Linked DNA regions of Homo sapiens: region 1 is linked to region 2. Evidence: promoter capture Hi-C in human tissues and cell types (Jung and others, 2019). All regions are on one chromosome and are shown on one strand. The core of a region is centred on a gene start or on the middle of the fragment in contact, and the rest is flanking DNA. Distances in the headings are between cores, read along the strand shown. Region 1 overlaps SCARB2 (scavenger receptor class B member 2). Region 2 holds the start of SDAD1 (SDA1 domain containing 1).

Region 1 (4,329 bases), core at 43-2,542, 200 kb after region 2:
CACAAAGAGTCCCCACTGAGGCACTGCCTAGTGGAGCTGTGGGAAGAAGGCCACCGTCCTTGAGACACCAGAATGGTAGAGCCACCATCAGCTTGCAATCTCAGCATAAAAAAGCTACTGAGGCGGAGCTGCCTAAGGCCTTGGGAGCCCACCCCTTGCACCAGTGTGCTCTGGATGTGAGACACGGAGTCAAAGAAGATGATTTTGGAGCTTTATGATTTAATAACTGCCCTGTTGGGTTTCAGACTTGCTTGGGGCCTGTAGCCCCTTTCTTATGGCCAATTTCTCCCTTCTCAAATGGGAATGTTTGCCCAATGCTGATACACCCATTGTATCTTGAAAGGAAATAACTTGTTTGATTTTACAGGCTTATAGGTAGAAGGAATTCATTTCTAGATGAGACCTGGGACTTAGGACTTTTGAGTTAATGCTGGAATGAGTTAAGACTTTGGGGGACTATTGAGAAGGGATGATTATATTTTAACATGTGAGAAGGACATGAAATTTGGAGGCCAGGGGTGGAATGATATAGTTTGGATGTCCCCTCCAAATCTCATGTTGAACTGTAATCTTCAGTGTTGGAGGTAGGGCCAGGTGGGAGCTGTTTGGGTCATAGGGGAGGATCCCTCAAGGTTTGGTGCTGTCCTCACAACAGTGGGTGACTTCTCACGAGATCTTGTTGTTGTAAAAGTGTGGCACCTCCTCACCCCTTGCTCCTGCTTTCACCATGTAACGTGCCTGCTCCTGCTTTGCCTTCTGCCATGAGTAAAAGCTCCTTGAGGCTTCCCCAGAAGCCGAGCAGAGCCAGTGTGCCATGTGTGTACAGCCTGCAGAACCATGAGCCAATTAAACCTCTTTTCTTTATAAATTACCCAGTCTCAGGTATTTCTTCATAGCAATGCAAAAATAGCCTAATCCAACTAATAGTAAGAGCAAACACTTAAGTATCACTAATTATGTGCTAGGCACTAGTCTAAGCACTTTATACATGACTCATTGACTCAATCTTTGTAAAAACCATGTGGAGGAGGTCCTATTTTTATCCCCATTTTATAGATAAGGAAATGGAAGCACAGAGAACTAGTAAGTTGCAGAGGCGGGAATCAAAATGGGTCATCTGACTCCAGAGTCAGAGCATGAGCACCCAAGGCAGGAACTAGGATTTTTATCTCTGAATTCCCACCACTGAGAATAGTACTGATTCATAGCACATGAATCAGTCAGCAATAATTTATTGAGCAATCGATTACAACAGAATTGTCAGGCATTTTTATCATTCAGCAGTTTTGAAAAAGAAAGATCTTGTTGTCTGCTTCCTCTATTAATTTGTTTTCTAACCTGGTAAGGAGAGACTTTATTGGAAAGATTATTGTATGGGAGAGGGAGGAGGTATTGTAATAGGGAAAAGGGGAACATTGCAACAGAGAAAATGCTCTGATTCAAGCGTCTCCCTCTACTAATCGTTTAAAAATGATTAAAGGGATCCTGATTCCCCAGTGTTTGGAATTGGTGGTCACCAGCAAAGACTCTAACAGCCTCTGCTACTTGCTTATTGCTTATACGCAGGATAGGTGGAGAAAAGGAGCGGGTAAGAAACAGAAAGATCTGTCTCAGACAAAAGTAAATTCTGGAACTGCTTTAAAACTAGTTATGTGGGGAATGGAAATGGAGGGAGGCCCTAAAAGTCACTTAAGAATATCAAGCAGTAGCCAGGCATGGTGGTGCTCACGCCTGTAATCCCAACACTGTGGGAGGCTGAGGCGGGAGAATCACCTGAGCCCAGGAGTTCAAGACCAGCCTGGGCAATATAGCAAGACCTCATCTCTACAAAAAAAATTATCTGGGTGTGGTGGTGAACACTTGCAATCCCAGCTACTAGGGAGGTTGAGGCAGGAGGATCACTTGAGCCCAGGAGTTGGAGGTGGCAGTGAGCTATGACTGCTCTACTGCACTCCAGCCTGGGCAACAAAGCCAGACCTTGTCTCTTAAAAAAATAAAATAAAATAAAATAAGAATATCAAGGGGCAACCTTAAAAGGGTCAGGGTAAGGAGTAACCCTTCATGGTTTAATAATCACAGTCTGCCAACTCAGGAGGAAACCGCTGCACTTCAAAACACAACACGCTGAGACTTGGCCCAGTCTACAAAGCCATTCTCTGCTGAGGTTTCACACACACATACAAAACATCAGCAGCGTTTCAGACAATGAAATCAGAAAGTGTGCTCCCACACAGCCCTGGAGCCTTGCTCCTGGGAAGAGGCAAGGACTCAGGCCATATTGGGGTCACTCTGTATTTCTTTCAAGACAGGAGGTGGTCAAGACTTACCTGTAGGTGTATGGCCCCACTTCTTCCACCCGAGGGGTCTCCCCTCTGAGGATCTCCTCTGGATTGGTGACATTGAAGAAATAGAACTGAGTATACACAGGCAGAGGGGGCTTCTCCCAGGAGTCAAATGCCTCAGTACCATTCCTTAACACAATTTTCTAGGAAAAAACCAAAAGGAGATTTACAAAAATGTAAGGCAATAGTTGGCTTTAAACCCAAGAAGCAGAGGAAGGGACGCCCCCTATTCTGACCTCCTAGATCACTATTTTAATCATTTCACAGGCATTCAACTGCAGTCTCCTGAGAACAGGGCCATATCTTACACCAATAGAGCCCACAGTTCTAATAAGTCAGAGAAGGCCTTCGATAAATATTTGTAAAGGGGCCGGGCCCAGTGGCCCAACACTCTGGGAGGCCAAGGCGGGCAGATCACTTGAGGTCAAGAGTTCGTGCTTGGTCAACATGGTGAAACCCCGTCTCTACTAAAAATACAAAAATCAGCCAGGTGTGGTGGTGCGTGCCTGTAATCCTGGCTAGTCGGGAGGCTGAGGCAGTAGACTTGCTTGAACCTGGGAGGTGGAGGTTGCAGTGAGCCAAGATCGTGCCACTGCACTCCAGCCTGGGTTACAGAGCAAGACTCTGTCTCAAAATAAATTAACTAGTTAATTAATTAATAATTGTAAAGGAAGGGTACTAAAGACAGCACTTGGGCAGAAGCATGAAGCATAGTGTTTCCAAAACCTAGGGCACAGATTGAGTGCCTAAAGGGCCTGCTGGCTTTGTTATTTTTGAAGATTCCATGGATGGTGTATCTTCTGTAGAAGTTAAGCAATTCTGAAAAGCACCATACACTCCCAGTTTGCCCAGATGAGAGAATAACAAGGGGAAGGGCCCAAGAAGGCCAGTTTTGGTCCTTTTTCAAGTCAAACCACATCCATCCCTACCGCCTCCACCACCAGGGGCTTTAAATGTATTTTCTTATTGGATCCCCAAAAACCCTAAAATGGAACTGCCTATCCCCGTTTCAAAAACCAGGAGGCCTAGCCTCACTGAGGTTAGCTGACAATGGAGACTGCACTCTGCACACAATCCCTCCTGCACTTTCCACCCCTGTTCTGTGTTACAGGATGAATAATGCCCCCCATACTCTAAATTCCTAAGCTGAAGTCCTAACCCCCAATACCTCACAATGTGCCTGTATTTGGAGTCGGGGTCTTTAAAGAGCTGATGAAGGTTAAATGAGGTCATGAGGGTAGGCCCTGCTAATAGGACCGGTGTCCTAACTGGAGGAGGAAACTGGGACACAGACAAGCACAGAGGGAAGGCCACGTGAAAACACGCAGAACTGACAGCCCTCTACAAGCCAAGAAGACAGGCCTCAGAAGAAACCAACTCTGCCAATACCTTGATCTCAGACTTCTAGCATCCAGAACTATGAGACAAATTTCTGTTGCTTAAGCCACCCAGTCTGTTGTATTCATTCGGGAAGCCCTAGCAAATTAATACACCATGACTCCCCTAAGGGTGAAGTATTCTCCCTGCCTCACTGACTTCAGGCTAGGCCAAGTGACTAGATTTGACCAACAGGATGTGGGTGGAATGGCAATGTATCAATTTGGAGCTAAGGCCTTAAGATGCATGGCAAGTTTCTATCTGCCACCTTGAAGTTGCCACCCTTGGAAAAGAGAAGAGCAGGCCACAGGTAGCTGCTGATCCTTCAGCCTAGGTTCTAAAACGGAGATGTGTAGACTAGTCCTAAAGCGGACCAGAAGCCTGGAGTCCAGCCTCGTTCCACTGAGCCAGCTGAGCTGGCTGCACACCCACATATTATTGTTATAAGCAACGAGACTGGGGAGTTACTTGTTACTCACCGTGGCAGTAGAGGCCTGATAAATACAGCGCCTGAGGTTAACAGAAACCTAACACCTGGTATTCCCAACAGTCCTCTATCTGTTAATGGAGAAAAGCCTTGTATTTTTACTGTAAAAACGGCTGAAATACA
Region 2 (4,141 bases), core at 198-2,697:
GTTATATGTGATTTTGCATATATACTTAAGTGAATTAAAGAAGTAGTTATTACCCCCTTCTTACATATTAAAATACCCACATAGGCTCAGCGATTAACCTGCTTCGGTTACACAACTGGTTAACAACAGTCAGCAGCAGGAGTTATCTAACGGAATTATATAGACTCTCAACTTACCACTTTCTTTGCGAATGGCTATACAATGCTTTAAGCATCTCAAAGCCTTGCCTATGTTACTTAACTTCTTGTACTTGTTTCCTACTCTTTATTTCCACTACCTTGATCCTTGGAGAGGCTTTCTCTACTGGTGACCTAAGCCACTGAGATTGCCATGTGTTAAAAAGCACTCATAAAATACATATATGTGAAAATTTAGGGGAGGAGGGAAGTGAGAAGGGCAATGAAAAAATAAGTAATTGTGTTAGCCACTGAACAAATCACAATCTGGTAGAAGCACAAACATGTAATTGCAGCAAATGCCTAGCAGAGATACCTGTTTAATGCCCGTCTGATAAATGAGTGTCTGAAGGAAGCACCTGTCAGATTAATATATCAAAAACCACTTTCGTTTTGTCGGTACTTGGTTCAAACACCCCTAATGTTCACAACTTACATGAGGTCAGTACACAAAGCCCATCACAATGAGGGCCTAATTTTTCAACCTAATCTTTTCCCGAAGCAAATTCTGACATCCGAGTCATGCCAGTCTCCGGTAAGTTTGAATCCTGGCTTAACTAAATATACTAAGCTCCCGAGTCTGTCCGTTGTGCTTGAGAAACCCCCCCCCCCCCTTTCCTGGCACAGTCCAGGGTACACAGCCTGCTCTCAGAAACGGACGTCAATCGAAAGCATTCTAACATACGATTCATCAAAGGTTACCGACTAATTCAAGTTTGGGATTTCTGAAAAGAGGCTGAGAAATCCGCGTGGAAGTTGGTGGTTGGGTGCGGCCCATTTCTCTCTCCACTTCCGTGCGGACGAAGAAAAATATCTTAAAACAAAATGAGGTTTTAAAGGTGTTTCAGCGGCAGCAGGGCAGGTAGAAAATCCAAAGGGGCAACAGATTTTCAAGAGGTGGGGAACGAACCCTAAGGCATGTCCCGTCCCCAACCCCTTCTCTCCTCTGGAGGGACCCCTGAACCTAACAGAAGAATAGGCGGCGAGCCTGGATCCCAGCCCCACTCCATGCTTTCCCGCACCGGCGTCTCAACCATCCACTATCCGGCCTCTAGCGTCTGCCGCGCCGCACTCCCACCTCCTCGATGTAGGCCGGCGGGTCTCGCTTGATTAGATTCTGTAACTGCGGCAGGTTGCTGGGAAGCTTGTTGTTGTTTCTGTTGGACATTTTGGCTGCAGACAGACTTCGCGGCGAGCAGTTTTAAAAAAACTCAGACGGCCGGCACCCCGCAATCCCTGCCAGCTGCAGCTTGGACTCGTGTTTCCGGGTATGACCGGAAATAGCGCATGGGACTCTAGGCAGGCGACACCTTAGCGGTTCCTAAAGCGAGCTATGCTACGGAAGCCTCAGAGTGTCAAAATTACTCTCGTTGCCAAAATACTCTGTGGTGTATTGGAGAGCCAGCCACCGCCGACCCGCCCCTCGCCCTTGGGCATATGCTACTACTTAATATTGCCTTGCGTTTCTGAAAGGATCTGAAATGTAAATTTTTTCACGTGTGTTAGCATGTATCGTCATTCCGACACCCATATGAAGCACATAAATGAGGATTAATCGTTTATTTTTAATCCCGCAGTCTAAAATTAGAAACTGACGCCTGTAATCCCAGCACTTTGGGAGGCCAAGGCGGGCCTGAGGTCGGGAGTTCGAGACCGGCCTGATCCACATGGAGAAACCCCGTCTCTACTAAAATTACAAAATTAGTCGAGCGTGGTGGCGCATGCCTGTAATCCCAGCTACTAGGGAGGCTGAGGCAGGAGAATCGCTTGAACACAGGAGGCGGAGATTGCGGTAAGCCGAGATTGCACCATTTCACTCCAGCCTGGGCAACAAGAGCGAAACTCCGTATAAAAAACAAAACAAAACAAAACAAAACTGAAAAGAACCGTGGCGCTAGATAACACTATTCCCTCTTAGGAGGAAAAAAGAGCAACGAGGGTCATATAAGTTAATGTGTATGATTTTAGATATGTTTTTATTTTGGTTTTGGTTGTTTCAACTTAGCGTGACCCATACAAGGGAAAAGAGGGCTGGATAAAATGTGATCATGTTGACCATTAATAAATGCAATTAATCGTTAAAATTCAACCATCGTTATAAGCTTTGTAAGCACTCCTCAGTCAGAGTTTTTAATTCAGATCCTGGTAATTCGAAGAGGAGAATACATTTCTACAATCTCAAGGTGTAAAAAATCAATAAGGGTTGAATGAATGAGGTAGGGTGTTGTGAATTAGAGAGAGAGAAAAAAAAACCTAATTACCCACCCTGTGCCAGGCACTATTCCAAGCACTTGTATTAACTTATTTAATCCTCAGAACAACCCTCTAAAATAGGTGCTATTGTTATCTACATTTTACAGAAGAGGAAACAAGCTCAGGGAAGTTGACTGCCTCAATTCATAGCCTGTGAGGAAGATGAGATTTCAATCTAGACAGTCTTGATTGTAACTACATGAGAAAAAACATAGCCTAACAGCTGGTAGCTGGTTGCTGGTCTGGCAAAATAGCCAGACAATAGGGTTCTGCTTAACCAAAGCAATTTTATAGAACGCCAACCTCATCTGTGACGATGATAAAATGAGCCCCAAACAAAACAACTCTGTAATCACACCTGCACACAAAATAAAGAATGCTTCACAAACCATGTTATTCAGCTGCTTTTGGAGAATGACTTATTTATTAATTATCAAATCAGTTACCTGTGAAGTTAAGAAATAAATGTCAGCAATAAATCTTTTTTAAAAAGCATAGATTTAAATTAAAATTTTTTGGCTAGGTTGTTTTAGTGAGGGCAAAAAAAGTATTCTCAAAACAAAATCTGGCTAAGTGTGGTAGCTCAAGCCTGTAATCCCAGAACTTTGGGAAGCCAAGGTGGGAGAACCACTTGAGCTGGGTAGTTCAAGACTAGCCTGGGCAATATAGTGAGACCCCATCTCTACCAAAAAGTTGAAAAATCAGCCAGGCATGGTGGCACAGGCTTGTGGTCCAAGCTACTGAGGAGGCTGAAGCAAAAGGGTTGCTTGAGCCCAGGAGGTTAAGGTTGCAGTGAAGCACTGCACACCAGCCTGGGCAATACAGTGAGACCCTGTCTCAAAAAAAAAAAAAAAAGAAAAAAGACTGCGTACAGGTACTTGAAAATGTCTGGTGTATTGAAACAATAGCCATAAGTTTGGTGTGACTAAAGGCTGGGAGGGCAGGGTGCAGCAGGGAAAGAGCTGAGAAGGTTATATTGTCCTGATATGAAAGGCTTTAATTGCTATTCTAAGGAGGGCATATAGGTCAGTTCATTTTACCTCCAGCAGCATGGAAGGCAGGATTTGTTTTTGATAAATGAGAACTCTAAGACTAAGAGTGGCTAACTGAATATATATTTTTCAGATGTTAAATAATTTGGGTATCTAAGGCCAACATCTCTGCTTTCATGTGAAATTCCATCCTTTATTTTTAAAATTATAATGTATTTATTTTATAGCTTTATTAAGATATAATTGATGTACAACAAACTACCCAGTGAACAATTTGATAAGTTTTGACATATGTATGTACCCATAAAACCATCATCACAATCAAAATAATGACTATATCCATCATCCCCAAACGTTCCTTGTGCCTCATCATCCCCAGACAAACACACATCTGCTTTCTGTCACCAAAGATATGTCTGTGTTTGCTGGAATTGTATACAAATGGAATCATACAGTACCTATTATTTGAGGTCAAGGTTCTTTCACTTAGCATAATTATTTTGAAATGTATCCATGGTGTTGTATGTATCAATAGTTCACTCCTTTTATTCCTGAGTAGTATTCCATCATATAGACATATTGCAATTTGTTTATCCATTCACTAGTTGCTGGATATTTGGGTTGTTTCCAGTTTTGGCTGTGAACATTCATGTTCAAGTCTCTTTTTAAGAGATAGGGTGTTGCTCTGTCACCAAGGGTGGAGTGCAGTGGCATGATCAT

Evidence for each region. Contacts are between HindIII fragments. The study calls those that stand out against the background at their distance.
Region 1: a contact is called between a fragment that was not itself captured here and the fragment with the promoter of SDAD1 in region 2, in 1 of the 25 tissues and cell types used here (hippocampus).

The regions. Positions count from the first base shown.
Region 1 is chr4:76,193,380-76,197,708 of GRCh38, forward strand. SCARB2 (scavenger receptor class B member 2) reads right to left here. Exons shown (of 12, transcript NM_005506.4): 2 at 2,328-2,485. Among named protein-coding and RNA genes, the nearest start is that of SCARB2, 18 kb to the right of the region's middle. RefSeq lists a silencer at 2,139-2,198. The HindIII fragment of the contact is 7,495 bases long and covers 1-4,329 here.
Region 2 is chr4:75,989,498-75,993,638 of GRCh38, forward strand. SDAD1 (SDA1 domain containing 1) reads right to left here and starts at 1,448. Exons shown (of 22, transcript NM_018115.4): 1 at 1,255-1,448. The coding sequence starts at 1,344. The region is part of intron 1 of SDAD1-AS1 (SDAD1 antisense RNA 1); the gene reads left to right. The HindIII fragment of the contact is 8,316 bases long and covers 1-3,748 here.